Linked DNA regions of Homo sapiens: regions 2 and 3 are each linked to region 1. Evidence: promoter capture Hi-C in 16 types of primary human blood cells and fetal thymus (Javierre and others, 2016). All regions are on one chromosome and are shown on one strand. The core of a region is centred on a gene start or on the middle of the fragment in contact, and the rest is flanking DNA. Distances in the headings are between cores, read along the strand shown. Region 1 holds the start of EFNB2 (ephrin B2). Region 2 overlaps NALCN (sodium leak channel, non-selective). Region 3 holds the start of CLYBL-AS3 (CLYBL antisense RNA 3).

Region 1 (3,287 bases), core at 40-2,539:
ACCATATGCATTTTTAAATTTAGCGTAGTGGATACTTTGTTTTAAAAATACATAATTTGTAGAATTACTGCCCAGTTTGTGTTTGAAACATAAATCCTGGGGTGGACGGCATTAAATTGAAAAAAAACGTGGGCATACAGTATATTTTAATTTTTCATACTGAATCGTACATTTGCACTGTGCCTTATTTCTACCGTGTTCTTCCTACTGTTGGACATATAAAAAGATTTTCCTTGGAACTGTGACTTGATTAGATGCTGCAGTATGCTGGATCCGGGTCGGTGGACCGCAGAGCGCTCGAGATGCGGAGAAGCAAAGCTGGCCGCTAGTGGGCGCTGTGGCTCCGTGGAAGTCACGGACGAGCGTCAGCACCGGCGCTCGACCGGGAAAGTAGCGAGGAGTTCCTGCCAGCTCTGCTCTGGGGTCTTGCAGACGCCGAGTGAGAAGCACATGCCTTGACTTTTCCATCTCACACCCTCTAAATCTCTGGTCACTTTGGGAAGCGCGCGTGTCTCCTAGAGGCTAGTGAGACGGTCCCCGCGTCGTGCCTGTGCCGGCGACACGCGGGGAAAGCTCCAGGGGCGCCACCTTCCCGGGGGGCCAGGAGGGAAGGGAGACGCCCGCAGAGAAGGCGGGAGGCGACGATGCTCAGGCCCTGATTAGAGCTGCAAATTCCGGCGCCGCGTCGCAGGAATCGTCTTGCAATTCCCGGCCCCACTGACTGAAACTGAGCCGTAGGCGATTGGTACCAAAATCAAGTGAGAAGCCCTCGCCGAGAGGCGTCGGGAGAAGCGCGCAGAAGCCGGGAGCTCTAAGGGTGCGCGCGGAGTGCAAGTCTTGCACGCGGGGCAGCGCCGCATCTGCGGAGAAGGGACGCCGAGCGGAGCCTGCTGCCTTCCGCACTGCTCGAGGGAAAGCCGCGCCCTCTGATTCCGCCGAGGGGGAAGGCGCCCCCGGGCGCGGAGACAGGTGGCCCGCTACTCGGCCGTCGCTGTTTCCACGTCTGCACCGCGCCCAGAAGGCCTCTCGCCGCCCCGGGGGCGCCCTGTGCACGCGCTGAGCGCTTCTCCTGCCCGGCTTCTGCTCCGCTCCCGCCGCCCGCGGGAGCCAGGGGCGGGGCTCACCTGTCAGCCCGAGCCCCGCCTCGCGGCACCCAATGTCGGGAGGGGATGGCGGACGGACGGACCGGCCGTCCAACCAGCGCGCGGCCGCGGAGCCGCGGGCCAATGGGCTTCGCGCGGCGGGGCGGGGCCCCGCGTTTATAGCGCTCTGACAGCGCGGCGGCCGCGCTGACTCTCCTCGGCGGGGACCGCGGCGCCGGCCGGAGCGAGGAGCTGCGCACGCAGCGGGTCCCGGCGCCCTCCCCGCACACAAAGGCCCGCGCGCGTCCGGAGCCCGCGGCGGGGACCGAGCTCCCTCTTTCCTGCCCTGGGGGCCGGGAGCCGCGCGGACTGAGAAGGCTCCTGCGCGCCCGGAGGCGCCCTACTCCGCTCCGTGCTCCGGGACATGGAACCGCGCCGACGCGGCGCCCGCGCGCTCGGGCCGCTGCCCGCTGCACTGGATCTATAGTCACAGGCGGCCCCGCTCGGGGCGCAGCGCCCGCCGCCCGCGCCGGTCGTCTCCGCTCCGGGTCTTTGTGTCCCAGCCCGCACCCGCCCCGCGCCCACCCGCCAGCCGCGGCCGGCCCGGCACCCTGGAGCCGCACGGGAGTCGGCCGTCCGAGCTGCGTCCGGCGCGGCGCCCCGGAACCCCGAGTCCGCCGCGCCGCCGCGCCCCGCGCGTGCGCTCCCGCCCCGCGCCCTGAGGGCCCCGGAGAGCGAGCGCACCTGGCCCGGCGACCGCTGGAGCTGCGCAGCGCGCCTCGGAGCTGCCTGCGGGCGCACGCCGTCTTCCCCGCCAGTCTGCCCCGGAGGATTGGGGGTCCCAGCCTGCGTCCCGTCAGTCCCTTCTTGGCCCGGAGTGCGCGGAGCTGGGAGTGGCTTCGCCATGGCTGTGAGAAGGGACTCCGTGTGGAAGTACTGCTGGGGTGTTTTGATGGTTTTATGCAGAACTGCGATTTCCAAATCGATAGTTTTAGAGCCTATCTATTGGAATTCCTCGAACTCCAAGTAAGTGGCGTCCGCGATCCCCCTATGTCCCCGCCCCGGGGTCCGCCGCGCCGTCCGGGCGGGAGGAGGGGTCAGTCCGCGGGGCCTCGGAGCCTGTTTCTGGAACCTCGGTTCCCCGTCCCCCACCCCCAACCCCCGCCCCATTTCACTAGGTGGAGACTCCTCGCTCGGCTTTCCAACCCGAGCCCCGCTGGAACGGACGGTCTCTCCGCCTTTCCTCCCCCGAACGCTCCCAGGCGCTAAAAGCTACTATCGGCTCGGGTGTCAAGTCCGGGAAGGTGTCCGATGGCGATACCTGACCCTCTCCTGTTTTCGAGGACGAAGGACATGGCCACAATCTAGGCTGGCCGGCACGCGGGGACTGGTGGGCTCTGGAGAGAGGCGGAGATGCTGCATTCGCGGGGAGCGCGGGCGGCGTGGTCCGGGGCCCGCGGGCGGGCGACCGGGGTGGCAGGACGCTGGCAGCGAAGCGCGTTCTGGAGAGGGGAGCCTGGAGTCGCTACGCTGCCCGCAGAGCCCTGGAGCCGGGGCGCCTTGGCACCGCGCCGCCAGCCCGAGGGTGCGCGGGGAGCTCGCCTGCTTCGCAGGAGAACTCGGGCGTCGAGCCCTTTCCTCCGCGCCGGGGAGACGGGCCTTAGGCTTCTCCCTGAGGGCCCGCCGCACCTCGGCCTCCCGCTTCGTTCATAAGCCGGTAGCCCCGGAGTATGCGGTCTCGATGGCCGACCTGATTGTAATGCACTTCCTATAAAAGCTTAGGGCCCTGCCCAGTCGACACTGCTCCTGAAGCCTTCTCCCTCGGGACCCTGGTAGGAATGGGATCCTTAGGATCAGATTTGCTCTTACCGGACTCTACAGCCGGGAGCGAGCCAGGCCTTGTGGAGAGTAACTTTCAGTTTGGGCCACCAGAGTGCATTCAGAATTTAGAAAATCCCATCCATCCCTAAATCTGTGTGGTCATAACTCGTAGTCATCTGGGTATTCAGTACTGTGTATCCCCTTATTTCGAATCACAGCCAAAACATATTTTACAGAATCTTGGAATTGTAGTCTCGGGAAACTTGGAGAAGAAGTATGCAGACATTAGCTGGTTTCTGGAGAAAACGTTTGAGATCAGAAGCAAAATCAATGGCCTAATTGAAGTTGAGCAAGTTGGGCCTGGTTTTAGGAGAAAAGAAATGG
Region 2 (3,367 bases), core at 465-2,964, 5.4 Mb after region 1:
AGAAATATAAATATACACTCTTAAATAAATCCATTTGATTGTCATTCCTCACAAAGATATCATATGGCATTTAAGTTCGTCGTGTCCAAGCATGTTTGCAGCCAAATGGAAAACTCGCTGCATGGACCAAATGTGGTATTTGTGTTTTGAGCTTTTCTGTTTTAATCTGCTAGGCGACATAACCAATTTTCCTGCCATTGTCTCTCTTTACAAATGCTACTACTTAGTATGATTCTGTAGTTAATTTTTTTTAAATTTTTCATGGTTTTTAAAAATTTTTAATTCTAGCGTTAGGCATGTGTAAACAAATTTTATTGTTTAAATATGCAAGTAATAGTAAACCATTAAAAATGTCTGAGATGAAAAGAGACTTGTCTTTGGGAATAAAATGACATAAAGTTTTCCTTGAATTTTTTTCTGGTTTAGTTTTTTTGTTGTTAAGTTTTGTTTTTGTTTTTTCTGTTAACTCAAAAGTTTTAGCTCATAGAGCAATTTATGGCGGGCAAGAGAGGTATACTTGGTAGGCCTTTGCTGCCATCTACTGGCATTTCATGTAATTACTTATTGCTTCCATTCTAAAACTAATTTTGTGTAACGTATATAATAGTATTATAGGTTCCCCCTTTTTTTCTTCTTTCCAATTTTTCTTTAGTTAAAGCAAAGTGAAGCAAATGCGGACACCAAAGAAAAGCTCCCTTTACGCCTGCGAATCTTTGAAAAATTTCCAAACAGACCTCAAATGGTGAAAATCTCAAAGCTTCCTTCAGATTTTACAGTTCCTAAAATCAGGTACCAAAATACTTCTTTAATTGCATATTTCACATATATTGTAAAAGATTCATCATCTTAAATCTGATTTAACCCTTCTTTTAAGTATATGTGGGTTGGGTTTCTTTCTATTTTATTGTCATCTTTCTACTACCTCTACCTCTATTTAAAATAAATAAATAAATAAACAACTTTGACTCTTTTAAGCAATGTATTCACAGAAGAGTCACTTTATAACTGCAGTAGCCTAAGCAAGAAGGCTGCTTCCCATCGCTTCTCTCTGGGATGACTCCTCGGGAATGGGACATCCCAGGAAACTGGAGAAGCTGCTCAGTGTTGCAGGGATGGCAGGTAGACATCAATCTCAGACCCCAACCGTATGAGACTAAAATTGCCTCTGTGGCCCTTTTATTTTCAAGCAAACAGGGAAACCACAGCTGGCCCAGTTTGTGTACTACTACAGTGTTTATGGAGCCTACCATGTCAGGTTACCATATATAATTTGCCTTCCACTTTTTAAAAGAAGAACCGTGGCGTTTTTCCACTCATACTGATTTGATTTTCTACCACGTTTGCCCTCCAGTTAAGCAAATGCATAAAAGATGCTTTAAACACCTATTTTTAATAATAAAAGGAAATTCTTCTAGTTATAGCTCAAGAAATTACAAACAGAATTACAGTAATATGTTACTAGCTTTAAAAATAATTCTGTGGGGGGTTATAAAAGTATGAGACTATATATGGTGCCATAATATTTAAAATTCGGGTAGAAATATATTTGCATTTCTAATTTTAAAAAACAAAATTAATTGAATTTGGTAATTTGAAGAGACGTTACTTGAATTTTCGTTATGCTTTGAAGATCAGATGAACGCACTTGCTTTTGAGTCTTAAAATGTAAAATTCTCTCTTAGTCATTCTTATGATAAATGGACATTTAGAGAGAGCAACTAATTCTTCCAAGTCTTAGAGGGGGAAAAAAAGTGTTTTATTACCACAATAAGATTCAAAAAACTGGGCTGGGTGCGGTGGCTCACACCTGTAATCCCAGCACTTTGGGAGGCCGAACCGGGCAGATCACCTGAGGTCGGGAGTTCGAGACCAGCCTGACCAACATGGAGAAATCCCATCTCTAGTAAAAATACAAAATTAGCTGGGCGTGGTGGCGCATGCCTGTAATCCCAGCTACTCTGGAGGCTGAGGCAGGAGAATTGCTTAAACTCGGGAGGCGGAGGTTGTGGTGAGCTGAGATTGCACCATTGCACTCCAGCCTGGGCAACAAGAGTGAAACTCCGTCTCAAAAAAAAAAAAGATTCAAAAAACTACCATCGGTTACTGAGTAATATTGCTTGAAAGTTATTTCAAGGATATTGCTTTTTAAGCAGGAGTCACTGAGTTTCAGGAAGCTGTTGCTAATGAAATATTTTAGTCATGATCTAGTTTTCTATGATCTTTTATCACTGCTTTATCTTTGCTCAAGCAAACTCATCATTGCAAAATGCTGTCACTTGCTCCCTTCCACTAATAATGCCTGATGCACATATACTTCATTTGCAAAGGGAGAGTTTTATGAAGCAGTTTATTGACCGCCAGCAACAGGACACATGTTGCCTCCTGAGAAGCCTCCCGACCACCTCTTCCTCCTCCTGCGACCACTCCAAACGCTCAGCAATTGAGGACAACAAATACATCGACCAAAAAGTAAGATCTGCTGTTTCGAATAACCAGGCTTCTAAAAAGCATCTATGTTTGAGAAAAGAACCGCAGAGTTCTTTAGGGTCCTGGAATCCAATTTCTCAAGAGAATAATGAAAATAAAATGATTTCATTTGTAAAAGATATCATGAAACCTAACATTTTTTACTCTATGCATTGAAATTTTGCATTTGCCCGTGTAAGCTTTTGAGCTGCGCCACGTGGCAGCCATGCGACTTTGTAAACATCAAGAGCCTCCCAAATCTGCATTTTCTCAGGTGCGGAATAAAGGGCTGGGATCTCCAAGGCTCAGTCCAGGTGTAATGACCTGCCATCTCCTGCAAGTACAACTGCTTATGTCTACTTATTACATCAGAGAGGATACGAGAGCATGTTTCTCTAAAATCGGTCGAAAGAATTGCCATTTATTCAATGCTTAGTATGTGGCAGGAACTTAGGTGCAAGAGCTTATTCATGTTCTAGTTTACCTATTTCTTTATCATTTGAAAAGTAGAAGGGAAAATTTTTTTCAGATTCCACAGCAAAGTATCAGTAGGGAACCACATATAAATAAAGCAAATTTAGGTAATAATTTTAAAGAAATGTACTTTTTCATTTATTCACTTTTAAAAAAAATAATATAAGGGCTGTGTGCCATGGCTCACCCCTGTAATCCCAGCACTTTGGGAGGCCGAGGCGGGTGGATCACTTGAGGTCAGAAGTTCGAGACCAGCTTGGCCAACATGGTGTAACCCCATCTCTACTAAAAATACAAAAGTCAGCTGGGCGTGGTGGTGGATGCCTGTAATCCCAGCTACTCGGGAGGCTGAGGCAGGAGAATCACTCGAACCTAGGAGGCAGAGGTTGCAGTGAGCTGAGATTGTGCCACTGTACTCCAGCCTGGG
Region 3 (3,730 bases), core at 584-3,083, 6.6 Mb after region 1:
CTCCGAGTGAAAAAGCCCGGACTTAATAAAAGTGCGAAGCAGTCACCGCTGAATGAGAAACCCTTTGAAGTGGAACTTATTATAGGAGGAATACTTTGGGGTTGCCTTAACGACGCCGCTGAATCGAAAGCGCTCGCCTTTGTCAGCGATTTGTTCTCCTTTGCTGGGGTGCCCAGAGAAATTACTTACATGGGCTGCCTTAACATGCAGCCTGCAAATCAGTAACTTTGCAGCTCAGACTCGCAGACGCCACTCGGCTGCGGACAAAAAGAGTCAGGGGGGAAACGCACCAACCTTTCACGCCGAGGCTCTGGGGCTGGGGGCGCACGGGCGTGTTGGGGTCGGCAGATAAGAAGTTGTATTACAACGCCCCCCCTCGTCCAGGCTTCCCTCTTCTTCCCTCTGCACCCCCTCGCCAGTCCGGGCTGGGGCTCTGCGGGCCCGGACTCCGCTCGGTGGCAGCGGAGGCCCGGCTCCTCCAGGGCCCACCGGCGAGGGGCGCTCTAGGGCGCGCGGCCGGGCGCGGGACTTTCCCAGCAGCTCGGGCCATATTTAATAAGGGTCGTTCATCACCGAGGCGCTTTGAAGGGTCGCCTCCAGCCCTGTGCCCATTAGAAAGGCGGAGGTGACATTTAAACTCCGTTTTCAAGGATCGCGGGGGGATTTCATTGAAAAGGCAACTCGTTTGTCTTATGAGCCTGGAAACAACCCCCTTCTCGCTCCTTTTGACCACATGGCATAACTCAAAAACAATAGTTCAAAAGTGAAATGGCATCGTGGTGTTCATTCGGAGACAGGCCCCCATCTAGCACCAGAGAAAAGGGGTAGTCCGCAAGACAATGTGCTTTTTGTGTCCGACTCTGTCACAAGGATTGTGTTGTTTGCTTTGGAGGCTGCGCCTGTTATACTTTCCTGAAAGTGCTTGTGTTAAACAAGAGTTATAAGTCATCCAAAACAACAAACATTTTGATTTTCTTTGCCTAAAGGGCTTTCCCTGGCTATGGGCACCGTGAAAAAATAATGTCCTTGCTGAGAAAGGAACACCAGTAGTAGCATTACAAGCGGGCGCATTAAATATTGAATGACACGGGAAAAAGAGCTTGTCGAGGGGCACTCAGCCTTAAAGTCTTTCTTCAACTTTGTCTTCGGTGGCTGCTGGACTATTTAAGATGGTATTAATTAAGGCAGCTTCGGATGCTGCCCAGCCGGCCGGCCCCTCGGCCGCGCTCGGTCAATGGGCCTGTGCCCCCGCGCTCTGCTCACGCGTTGGCTGAGCCGAGTGCAAATGTCACTTCTCATTTGGAGGCTGAAGAGAAGTGCCCATCCTACATTAAGGGCAGCAGGGATGCAGTCAGCAGCAGGCGTTAAAGGAATACGAGGGACTGCGGTGAGGGGAGGGAAGGCGGGAACAAAATGGGAACAGCTGCCCGGGGCGGGGTCGAGAGAGTGCCCCAAGCACAGCTTTTGGCACATTTTGGAGAGCGCCGCTGGCAAACCGGGGCCAAGCGGGACTCGCTGGGTTGGAAGACCCCCTCTCTTTCGTCGTTCCTGCGTGGGGAAAATGAAAACTCTAGCTCTGCACAAATCCATTAGGCAGGCTGGCGGGGCGTTATTTTACAAAGGGACTCGCTTCTACAAAGAAAGACAAAAGCTTGGTGCAAACAGGCGTCTTGACTGACTTCCACCTCTCCCTACGGTCCCCTTCACAGATCACAAACAAATAAAGCCCAAAGGACCTCAGCCAAGGATCTCCAGATCCAATTTTACAGATGGCGAAACTGAGACCTCAAGCAAGACTCAAATTGATTTTTGTCAATATTCCCCGAAGTCAGAGGTTGAGACCCTCTTTGAGACCAAAGATCCAGGCGGGAGTGGAGTTCTCTTTAAAGTCGCCAACAACCACGCCAAAATGTCCCTTTCCCCTGCCCCCCATTGCAAGTGTTTGATTCAAAGTCAAATGGAAATTGGTTTCAGCAGTTGAAAATTCCTAACATAAAAAAAGGAATGAAGCTTACTGCCAACTGACTGTGGCATAAATGAAATGCATGCTCTGAGAAACTCTGTTAACTATCAGTTCTTGATGAAGAGAGACAAGATTTGGCTGGGCAGAGGGGGCAGGGCATCCCGGCAGATTGATTTCTGCAGCCAGAAGCCCAACAGGCGCCCCCGTCTCCCTATGTGGCGTTTCACCTGGATGTGGGCCTTCTCTTTTACCACACGACCCCTTGTAGGTGGGGGGAGATGCAGTAAAATGCCCTCCCCACCCCCACCCCCGTGTGTGTGTGTGTGTGTGTGTGTGTGTGTGTGTGTGTGTGTGTGGTTAGCACCCTTAGCTTTTGATCCATTTGCAATGTCTGATTCTCCATCTTAAAATGTGTCCATTCAGGGCTCCCTCTGGCCTTTTGGATAAGGGGCGGGTCATGTTTCCACCAAGAGCCATGTTGCAGGAGAACTAGTCCCTACCCTTCCTGCAGAGACTGGAATCTGAGCGCAATGGGTGGCCGGAGAGCTCGCATTCAGACAGCCCTGAGATGCGGGCCTGGGGCCCTACGCCCCATTGGCAGCTGGAGGCGTCGCTCTGGGGCCAAGGAACGCCTGGCCGGGTCAGGACGCGGGCAGAGGTGGGCGGTGGGGCAGCGAGAGAGGGCCGCGCCAGAGCAGCCCACTCCCGCACAGCCTAGGACTGGAGTTCCCAGGCCCAACCGCCTACCTGAGTGATCTGTTTTGCACATCTTTCCTCATTCCTCTTCTCTGCTGTCCCTACCTCCTCTACTTTTTTGCATGAACAGGGCCCAGGCCAGGATAACGGATGCAGAAAGATGGCCTTTTGGCCCGGAACGCACTCTCTCTCGTACGCATACACCCACCTCCCTACCACCCCCCCCACACACACGCTCACGCGCAATTCAACCCCCCCAGCCCAGCCCCAGCCAGTGCACTGGGCACACGCTCGGGATCCAGGCACCTTGCCAAGAGCTCGCGAGCACCCTGCGTGGCACACTGGTTGGAGTTCCTGCACGAAGTGGCGGGGGTGGAGTGAGGAGGGAGGGGTGGGCGGCGGTGCACGCCGCCGACTGCTGGCGGTGAGCACAAGTTCAGTGCTCAACTTCCCGCTCTTAACGAGACCCGGGATCCCTTTGGAGAGGCCCTCGGGAGCTGGCGACAGGGCTGGGAGTGGCGTGGGTAAGCTGGCCGGCGCGGGGCGCGGGCGGCGGGGCACAAGGGCGCTACAAGAAGAGGGCGCGAGGGTGCCCGCGGCCAGCCGGGCGCTCCGAGAAGTCAGCGCGAGCAGCTGTGACTTCACCTATTAGCCCCGATGTCTTTCCGAGGAGCCTGGTGGAGTTAAACAGCCCACAATGGGCGCTCTGGGGCGCCTCCAGCCTGACCTCCACCCGGGTTTAATAGTTTCATAGGAACTTCATTAAATCAATTACTTAGTGAGCACATCATCATTTATTTGTAATTAGCAGCGAGGAGCGCGTTCTCTCCCCCAGCCCGCGGCCCGGGTCCCAGCGGGGTTGACTAGTTGTGCAAGCACTTTTGTTTGCTCGAGTGTTGACTCCCGGCATTATTCGGCCCGGGTAATCTTTACGTCTCAATCTAGTATTCAGGGGGCGAAAGGAAAACAAACAGGGCGCAGGCCGGAGGCCAGCCCTTTGGTCCCAGCCGTCCCAGAACTCGGCCCTCGCTGGGCGTGCAGGGCGCACCTCTGCGGCCCCGGCTCCTCCCG

What was found. Contacts are between HindIII fragments. The CHiCAGO score rates a contact against its expected background, and 5 or more counts as called.
Region 2: a fragment that was not itself captured here is called in contact with the fragment with the promoter of EFNB2 in region 1 in 1 of 17 cell types (total CD4 T cells); the score reaches 7.2 in total CD4 T cells.
Region 3: a contact is called between a fragment that was not itself captured here and the fragment with the promoter of EFNB2 in region 1, in 1 of 17 cell types (total B cells). The highest score is 8.1, in total B cells.

The regions. Positions count from the first base shown.
Region 1 is chr13:106,533,664-106,536,950 of GRCh38, reverse strand. It overlaps EFNB2 (ephrin B2), which reads left to right and starts at 1,289. Exons shown (of 5, transcript NM_004093.4): 1 at 1,289-2,108. The coding sequence starts at 1,987. RefSeq lists an enhancer at 192-261 and a silencer at 842-1,501. The HindIII fragment of the contact is 2,990 bases long and covers 1-2,861 here.
Region 2 is chr13:101,142,182-101,145,548 of GRCh38, reverse strand. It overlaps NALCN (sodium leak channel, non-selective), which reads left to right. Exons shown (of 44, transcript NM_052867.4): 16 at 653-789; 17 at 2,328-2,469. Among named protein-coding and RNA genes, the nearest start is that of LINC00411, 200 kb to the right of the region's middle. The HindIII fragment of the contact is 1,909 bases long and covers 760-2,668 here.
Region 3 is chr13:99,956,536-99,960,265 of GRCh38, reverse strand. CLYBL-AS3 (CLYBL antisense RNA 3) reads left to right here and starts at 3,101. Exons shown (of 5, transcript NR_120421.1): 1 at 3,101-3,183. RefSeq lists enhancers at 2,071-3,045, 3,046-3,730. The HindIII fragment of the contact is 359 bases long and covers 1,654-2,012 here.